Linked DNA regions of Homo sapiens: region 2 is linked to region 1. The links are contacts of gene promoters, found by promoter capture Hi-C in human tissues and cell types (Jung and others, 2019). All regions are on one chromosome and are shown on one strand. The core of a region is centred on a gene start or on the middle of the fragment in contact, and the rest is flanking DNA. Distances in the headings are between cores, read along the strand shown. Region 1 holds the start of COMMD4 (COMM domain containing 4). Region 2 overlaps SNUPN (snurportin 1).

Region 1 (4,578 bases), core at 801-3,300:
CCTCCTGACTGGCTGGGATTACAGGCACCCACTACCACACCCTGCTAATTTTTTTTGTTTTTTTTCAGTAGAGACAGGTTTTGCCATGTTAGCCAGGCCACCGCTCTCGAACTCCTGACCTCAGGTGATCTGCCTGCCTCGGCCTCCCAAAGTGCTAGGATTACAGGCATGAGCCACCGTGCCCAGCCTTTATTTATTTATTTATTTATTTATTTATTTATTTTTATTTTATTTTATTTTTCTGAGATGGTCTCCTTCTGTTGCTCAGGATGGATGGAGTACAGTGGTGCCATCATGGTTCACTGCAGCCTCCACCTCCCAGGCTCAAGAGATCCTCTGACCTCAGCCTCTTAGGTAGCTGGGACAACACGTGTGCACCAGGACAAGCGGGTAATTTTTTGTAGAGACTGGGGTCTCCCTATGTTGCACAAGCTGGTCTAGAACTCCTGGGCTCAAGCGATCCACCGGCCTTGGCCTACCAAAGTGCTATGATTAAAGGTCTTAACATTCTTAAAAAATTTTTTTGACATGGTTTAGGATAGTCTAGTAACTTAACGTACTGTTGTTTTCAACAGGCTAGTGGTTATGATTTGTAAAAGAACTCTTCAGAAATGAGCTCAATTTTACCATGAATTGGGGACACTTTACATTTCTATTTTATAGTGCAGTTTAATTGTCATGGGCTCTGTCTTTTAAAAACCTGAAAGCCTGCAACAATAAAACCAGCTGCACCTGTTGCATGGGATAGGCATGGAATTGAGGAGAGAGCTCAAACTACAGTCAGCCCTCTGTATCCTGAGGTTCTGGATCCTTGGATTTAACCAACTGTGCATCGAAAATATTTGGAAAAAGTAAAACAATAAAAAAACACAGGTCGGGTGCAGTGGCGGGCGCCTGTAGTCCCAGCTACTCGGGAGGCTGAGGCAGGAGAATGGCGTGAACCCGGGTGGCAGAGCTGGCAGCGAGTGGAGATCGCGCCACTGCACTCCAGCCTGGGCAACAGAGCAAGACTCCGTCTCAAAAAAAAAAATTAAAAAACTTTATAACAGCTATTTACAAAGCATTTACGTTGTATTAGGTATTATAGTAATCTAGAGATGATTTAAAGTATACGGAAGGATGTGCACAGGTTATTTGCAAATACTATGCCATATTATATCAGGGACTTGAGTATCTGTGAATTTTGGTATCTCTGGGGTCCTGGAACCAACATCCTGAGGTTACCAAAGGACGACTGTATTCAATTTTGTCTCTGGTTATTAGTCTATTCTCAAATGTATTTTTCTTGTTGTTTTGTCTTTTTGTTTTTGCCTCTTCAAGTCAATGTCGGAAACTTAGTTGTTCTAGACTACCCATTAGCTCAGAGCTACCAGTAATCAGACTACCACTGCAACCTAAGCAACCGATTTTTCTTCCCCATCAGACTGGCAAAAATTAAGATAAGCATCTATTGATGTTGAAGCTGTAGGGAGTTTTCCTGAGCAAGTAATTATGACAGCCCTTTTTGCTAGGCACCTAGATGATTCATCAAAATGAAATAAAATACCCATGCACTTGAAGAAGTTATCTGGTTTATTTCCTTACCTGGGTGCTGGTTATGTGAGGTGTACAGTTGATGAAAACTTATTAAGCTTTATAATAGGTACAATTTTCTGTATGTGTAGTAGACGTCAATAGTTTTTAAAATGTCTTTTGCCACAGCCCGCAGCTGTGAATAATGCTATTCGCTTAACAGTGGAAAACGTGTCAATGACCTGAAACACCCTGGCTCCCGGGATCCTACCCCCTTAAGTTAAACAAATGAAATAACTTCCACTGTCTTTCCTAATGTCTTAATTCGGTCCTCAGTTAAACTGGCGGTTGGCGCCAGTTTTTTCCAGGGAAGGATTCTGGGAGACGGAGGAGGAGACGCCAGCATTTCGCCCCCTGCACCTCCAGCGGGCTGCGGTCCGCTCCCGGCCTCACTCGAGCAGGCCCCGCCCTCCCAGAGGCAGTTAGTCCAAGTCACGTGATCGTCGACTCAGCTGACCCTGCGGGACCGGAAAAAGAAATTCCCGGGCCCTGGCTTCTTGGCGCGATGGTGAGGCACTAGGGGCGAAGCGAGGCTTGGGCTGCTGGAGCGGGAATGAGGGGGCGCCAAGTGGCTCCGGAAACTGGGGGAGGTTGTACTGGCCTCTCCGCAAACACAGTGTGTGCGGGCGTGAGGGCTGTGAGTCTGGTAGGGAAAAGTCCACCACTCTCCCGCTCCCGAGACGGGGGCGGGGGTACGGGGCGGGTAAGACAGAGCAGGCCGGCCGGCTTAGAGTCCCGGTGCTTCCCTGGCGGAAGGAAGGGCCCCTGCCTCCCGGGGCAGGAACTAGGGCTTGTCTGGAGCTGGGAGTCCTTTCAGGTCTTCCCCATCCCCAAGAGGACCTCCCAAGGATACCCCCTTCCCCAGCCCTGCCGTGGGGCTTGTACAAGAAGGTGCTTAGAATCAGGCTCACTCTTCCACACTGTTAGGAAGCCCCTCCGCTCTTTCCAGAGCCAGAAAGTAGTAGTTTTGGGGTTGAGACTTATCCATCCATCCATCCAATCCATCCATCCGTACGTTCTAAGCGCCTGGTCTATACCATGAAGTGTGCTAGGCACTGGGAGGACTTGAGCTGCCAAGGGAAGGGGAAATCGGAGGCTTGAATTGGAGTCATAGCTAAGGCTCCAGGGGCAGAGACCTAACTGCGCCTTGTGTGTAGTGCTAAGGGGGCTTCCTAAGGATGCCATCAAACTTAAAGGCGGATGGATGGCAGGAGCTGGCTGGCTGAAGTACAGTTTGTGTACCAGGGGTAGGGAGGCAAGGGTGGGAGACGTGTGTCTTCAGACAGGGAACAGCATGTGCAGAGACTTCAGGTTAGAGAGAGTATGGCTCCCCAGGAATGGATGCATTTCCCATAGCTGGGAGAGTATCATCTGCAGGTTAGGGAAAGATGAGGCTGGACAAGTAGAGAACAAATCTTCCTGGCTCTTGGATCACCACAATCAAGATAATGAACGTATCCACTGGCCTCCATAATTTCCTTGTGTGAGGGGCTATTTTAAGAAGTATAATCAAGAAAGGCTGTTCTGGCTGGGTGCGGTGGCTCATGCCTGTAATCCTAGCACTTTGGGAGAGTGAAGAGGGTGGATCACCTGAGGTCAGGAGTTCGAGACCAGCATGGCCATGGCACTCCAGCCTGGGCAACAGAGGGAGACTCTGTCTTATTTTTTTATTTTTTAAAAAAAGAAGGGCTGGTCTGATGTGTCACTTAAAGGATAGCAAGCCACTGGCCAGGCGCCGTGGCTCACGCCTGTAATCCCAGCACTTTGGGAGGCTGAGGGGGACGGATCACTTGAGGTCAGGAGTTCAAGACCAGCCTGGCTAACATAGTGAAACTCTGTCTCTACTAAAAATACAAAATTAGCCGAGTGTGGTGGCACATGCCTGTAATCCCAGCTACTTGGGAGGCTGAGGCAGGAGAATCACTTGAACCTGGGAAGCGGAGGTTGCAGTGAGCCGAGGTCGCGCCATTGCACTCCAGCCTGGGGAACAAGAGTGAAACTGTCTCAAAAAAAAAAAAAAAAGGATAGCAAGCCACACAGAGAGTGCAGCAGGCATGGAGGCGGGAGCAAGGCTGGTGTGCCCCAGCAGCAGCAGGGAAGCTGGAGTGGCTGGAGTTGTGTGGGTATGGGGAAGAGGGGAGAGAGTTCACTCGTCTCTGTGAGGCCCAGGACTTTGTTTTATCCCATGCTGTACCCCCAGCACTTAGAGTGGGAGCTAGCACAGAGAAGGTGCTTAATTGATGTTTGCTGAGCAGATGAATGCCTGGAGTAGACCTCAGAGCAGGGTTTGGTGGCAGGGTGGGTCAGGGAGAGAGTTTACTCAACAGCCTGGTGATAGGGGAGAACAAGAGGCCAGAGGGTATCCATCTATGTCGGGGACCAGGGGTCCCTGGTGGGCAGCAGTGTGGGAGACACACGGATCCTGGCCACACCTCAGGCCTCCCTCCAGCCTGATTACCTGCCTCCCTCCCTTGCAGAGGTTCCGGTTCTGTGGTGATCTGGACTGTCCCGACTGGGTCCTGGCAGAAATCAGCACGCTGGCCAAGATGGTTGAGTGCACAGGGTCTAGTCTGGGTGGAGGAGGGGTGTTGGGGGTGGGGATTGTGGGTGTAGAGGATGGTGAGGTTTCTCTGGGGCTAGGGCCTCAGTGCTCTCAGCCTGTGCTACCATGCTTTGTGACCTTGATCAGTGGCTGGCCTGCTCTGAGCCAGTCCCCAGGAAGGAGGGGTGAGGTTTGCCAGCCTGGCTGATGTAAGGACTTCCCTTCCAGTCCTCTGTGAAGTTGCGGCTGCTCTGCAGCCAGGTACTAAAGGAGCTGCTGGGACAGGGGATTGATGTGAGTACAAGATCCAGCACCCCATTGTCCCATGACCTTATGACCACCACTGCCCTGAAACTCTGCACTAGGCCCAGGGAGACGGGTGAGCCAGCCTCTCAACCTCTCTGGGCACCTCCCTTCCTTCTTTCCAGCCTGTCTGTTCCTTATCGCAGGATCCAGGCTGGGGG
Region 2 (4,536 bases), core at 510-3,009, 260 kb after region 1:
ACACAATCTTCCATTCTCACAGCTGCCAAAGACCTCCAGTTCACAAATCTCAAGAGACCTTGCCTGCTCAAAGTTCTTTCTTAGCTCCTTTCATCCATGACACAAAATCTAAAACCTGCTATCTCTCTCCAGCCTCTTCTCCCAAACTGTCCTGGTGGGCTTCTTTTCTCACAGGAGTGTGAGCTCCTCAAGGGCAGGGACTAAGTACTGTCCACCTCCATAACCCCTCTACTTGGCAGGGGCCTAGGACAAGCTTATCTCCTGGTAGGCACAAATGTTTGCTGAAGGAGTGAATGAACTACATTTGCATTTTATCTCTGGCAATGTCTAAACCAAAGAAAATCACACTTGTCTTCTCAGAAGAGGGAACATATTCAAATACCCAGAATTGCAGTTCCTGGTAAAACCTTTCGGCGGCAGCAGCAACTGGAAACTCAGCAGAATCTTTGAGTACTAAAAAGAGTGAAATGGGCCAAGACTTGAACAGCCATGGTTGAAGTAGCCCAGGGGACTGAGATGGGAAGGGGAGATTCATGGCTATCTAAAGCTTAAGAACCACAAACCAGTTCTTTCTTACAAATCACATATATTTACATTGTGGATCTGGGATACACTTATCACAGTAGGAGCTGCTCAAATCAATCTGAATGCTACGCAATCTGGGAACCTCCCCATAACTGTTTGAGCCAGCATTTCAGATTATAGATAAGCTGTTTCCAGCTGGACTGGGTTTGGAAAGTTCACTCTAAAGAATGAAGTCACCTGTTGTCACTGTCCTCCTCTCCAGGATTCCTTTTGGGGCCAGGTACCATCCTGTGGCTCCTTAAGGAGGCTTCTCTCTTTAATTCTCCATGAGGCATCCAGGGTGGTCTGGGCTATGGGAAGAACCCTTCAACTTGGGAGTAGACAGGTGCTCCAATTCATAGTGCCCATTCTCAGAGGCCTTGTGTGTGAGTTTCTCCTTCATGCCTTCCTTCTGGCTCTTCTTGTGCTCCATAATCTGCTGGAGCTGGTGCCCAGCATAGTCTGGCTTGGTGGTCAGCGGGCCAGCCGGCACAGCTACACCAAGGACATCTGACACCATGTAGGGGCGCAGCCAGCCCACCAAGGGAGTGCTTCCGGGGCTGTAGTGGGTCTGTTTGTGGTAGAAGAGAAGTCCATCTACCTATAAGACAAGGGGAAATTGAGGATCAAATGACTTCTGGGGCCACATGTTTCCAGGAGAGCCTATACACACAAGGGCAGCTCTTGTGGTCCGACTCCTTTTTCTGGGTCACTGACAGAGGAAAGAGTCCCAGCTTCTCACACATGCCGTTTCTCTAAATAAAGAAATGGCCTAGAAAACTAAATTTGAGAAAATAAAAACATTGGCTGGGCGTGGTGGCTCATGCTTATAATTCCAGCACTTTGGAGGCTGAGGCAGGCAGATTGCTTGAGCTCAGGAGTTTGAGACCAGCCTGGGCAACATGGTAAGACTCCATTTCTACTAAAAATTCAAAAAAATAGCCAGGCATGTGTGGCACATGCCTGTAATCCCAGCTACTCGGGTGTCTGAGACACGACAACCGCTTGAACCCAGTAGGCAGAGGATGCAGTGAGCTGAGACTGCACCACTGCACTCCAGCCTGGCGACAGAGTGAGACTCTGTCTCAAAAAAAGAAAAAAAAAAAGGAAAGGATAAACATAAATAGCACTTTCCTGTTTACAGAGTGCTTTCCTGCCCACTATTTTACTATCTTACCCATGACGGTGTCTGAGAGATGGGGCTGCTCATACTCAGGGAGTTCTGAGGACCTCCTTAAAACACACAGTGAGTAGGAAGCAGGACTTCAACTTGAACTCTGGTCTTCTGTCCCCAGATTCCACGGACTTTCCACCACTTAGGGGTCTGTGTTGTGGTGGATGAGCTCTGTGCATGGAATGAAAAGCAGAGGAACTGGACAGGCCCCTCCGGGGCAGCAGATTGCTGCACACAGTGGAAACAGGCTGTCCAGATGCCCTGCTTCCCTGGCTACTGTTGGTTGCCTAAACCTCCCCCTAAATTGTTTGTGAGCCATGTTCTGGGAAACAGTTTTTCTCAACGGGAAGACCTCCTACAGTCCCACATTTTATTTTCTATGATTCAGTGACTCATCTCTAAAAAGCATTTATTGTCACTGGGGCATAAGGGTTATAAATAAAGATGGTATTCTTACCACCTTCTTAATTGACTCCCAGAAATGCTGGCAACTCAGCCTTTGCCATTTCCTTATTTGGGAAGCTGTGATCCTTATATAAAATTACATCCAGTTCAAGCAAATGCTTGCAGTGACTGGGCAGATTTTTTTTTTTTTTTTTCTTTCTGAGATGGAGTTTCGCTCGTTGCCCAGGCTGCAGTGGAGTGCGGTGGTGCGATCTCAGCTCAGTGCAACCTCCGCCTCCCGGGTTCAAGAGATTCTCCTGCCTCAACTTCCCAAGTAGCTGGGACTACAGGCGTGTGCCACCATGCCTGGCTAATTTTTGTATTGTTAGTAGAGCCGGGGTTTCACCATGTTGGCGAGGCTGGTCTTGAACTCCTGACCTCAGGTGATCCAACTGCCTCGACCTCCCAAAGTGCTGGGATTACAGGTGTGAGCCACTGTGCCCGGCCAAGGCAGAATTTTTAAGGGAATGATGGGCAAAGGAAAATGTGCTTGTTGAGCCTAGAGAAGGTAGCTGCAGGTTCTGAGGCTGACAAGACTGTTGAGGACTGGGGAGCCTCTGGGGCTGTGAGGTTTGTTTTTTGTTTTTTTTTTTTGAGACAGAGTCTTGTGCTGTTGCCCAGGCTGGAGTGCAGTGGCTCAATCTCGGCTCACTGCAACCTCTGCCTCCCAAGTTCAAGTGATTCTCCTGCCTCAGCCTCCCGAGTAGCTGGGATTACAGGCATCTGCCAATACGCCCAGCTAATTTTTGTATTTTTAGTAGAAACGAGGTTTTGCCATGTTGGCCAGGCTGGTCTTGAACTCCTGACCTCAAGTGATCCACCGGCCTCGGCCTTCCCAAGTGCTGGGATTATAGGCGTGAGCCACCATGCCCAGCCGCTGTGAGACTTTCAGTGCTAAAACAGGGCGAGTCCTGAGCAAACTGGAATGAGGTGGTCACCTGACTCATGCTCCTGCTCAGCAAGTGCTGCTGTCCCCAAGGGCCATCTTCTTTGGTGAGGAAAGGATTAGGGATTTGGACATTTGTTGGAGTCATTCAGTCACAGAAGCACCTTCACTTTACAAGCAGCCACGACAGCCAAACCAGGGACCTGGGTCTCAGCTTGCAGTAGGAAGAGGCACACAAGAAGGATCTAGGCATGCAAGTCTTGCTCCTATCTGGGCCTCAGTTTCTCCGGACCTCAGTTTCTCCATCTGTAAGATGAGGGAGTTGGACGAGCTGTCCATTAAGGGCCCTTCCAGTGCCAGCATTCTGACTTATCCAGCATGGGTGGAGCTCAGGCTCTGAAGGGCAGCAAGTACATCCTTTCTCCAGAATCAGCTTTGTCCCATTCTGATGCTTTGACACAGCACAATCAAGGAATATTTTAAGACTTTGTGTAACTAAGTCTCTCTGCAGCCTATCATCATGTCAAGGCAATAAAGACAATGGTTTCGTTACCTCAAAAGGGAAATCCATAGATAGCACATCACACAGGCTTTCGGGAGTGCAAGGGAAGTTCTTTAGCCCCACAAATTTAAACTGAAATAGAAATTAGAACAAGGAATTAGTACGTTATAAATGATACTGGCCCAAGCAATTGAAAATCTCTGTCAGGCCAGGCATAGTGGCTCACACCTGTAATCCCAGCACTTTGGGAGGCAAAGTCAGGAGGATCACCTGAGGTCAAGAAATCAAGACAAGCCTGGCCAACATGGTGAAACCCCGTCTGTACTAAAAATACAAAAATTAGCCAGGCATAGTGGCATGTGCCTGTAGTCCAAGCTACTTGGGAGGTTGAGGGAGGAAAATAGCTTGAACCCAGGAAGGGGAGGTTGCAGTGAGCCATGATCATGCCACTGCACTCCAGACTGGGTGACAGAGCAAGACTCCCTCTCAAAAAAAGCAAAAAGAAAAGAAAATCTCTGTCAAAGAAGAAAAACTTGTAGTCCCAGCTACTTGGGAGGCTGCTGAGGTAGAAGGATCGCTTGAGCCTGAGGTCAAGGCTGCAGTAAGCTCAGATTGTGCCACTGCACCCCAGCCTGAGTGACAGAGCCAGACCCTGTCTCAAAAACCAAACCAAACCAAACTAAACCAAGCCAAAACAAAAAAACAAAGAAGAAAAGTTTTCAGTCTCATCCTTCTCTACTAATTCCCCTCTACTTACTCTCTTAACTACTAGGTCGTGGTTCCCAATCTTTCCTCCCCCTTTTTTTTAAGAGATGAGATCTCATTCTGTCACCCATGCTAGAGAGCAGTGGCACAATCACAGCTCACTGCATCCTCAAATTCCTGGGCTCAAGGGATTCTCCCACCTCAGTTTCCCAGTATGCTGGGATTATAGGCATGAGCCACTGTACCCAGCCCCAACCTTCT

Evidence for each region. Contacts are between HindIII fragments. The study calls those that stand out against the background at their distance.
Region 2: a fragment that was not itself captured here is called in contact with the fragment with the promoter of COMMD4 in region 1 in 5 of the 25 tissues and cell types used here (bladder, heart right ventricle, liver and 2 more).

Annotation. Positions count from the first base shown.
Region 1 is chr15:75,334,013-75,338,590 of GRCh38, forward strand. It overlaps COMMD4 (COMM domain containing 4), which reads left to right and starts at 2,051. Exons shown (of 8, transcript NM_017828.5): 1 at 2,051-2,080; 2 at 4,050-4,121; 3 at 4,343-4,408. The coding sequence starts at 2,078. RefSeq lists enhancers at 1,885-1,934, 2,275-2,444. The HindIII fragment of the contact is 27,503 bases long and covers 1-4,578 here.
Region 2 is chr15:75,597,517-75,602,052 of GRCh38, forward strand. It overlaps SNUPN (snurportin 1), which reads right to left. Exons shown (of 9, transcript NM_005701.4): 8 at 3,622-3,702; 9 at 570-1,165. The coding sequence ends at 842. Among named protein-coding and RNA genes, the nearest start is that of PTPN9, 20 kb to the left of the region's middle. The HindIII fragment of the contact is 4,669 bases long and covers 1-4,094 here.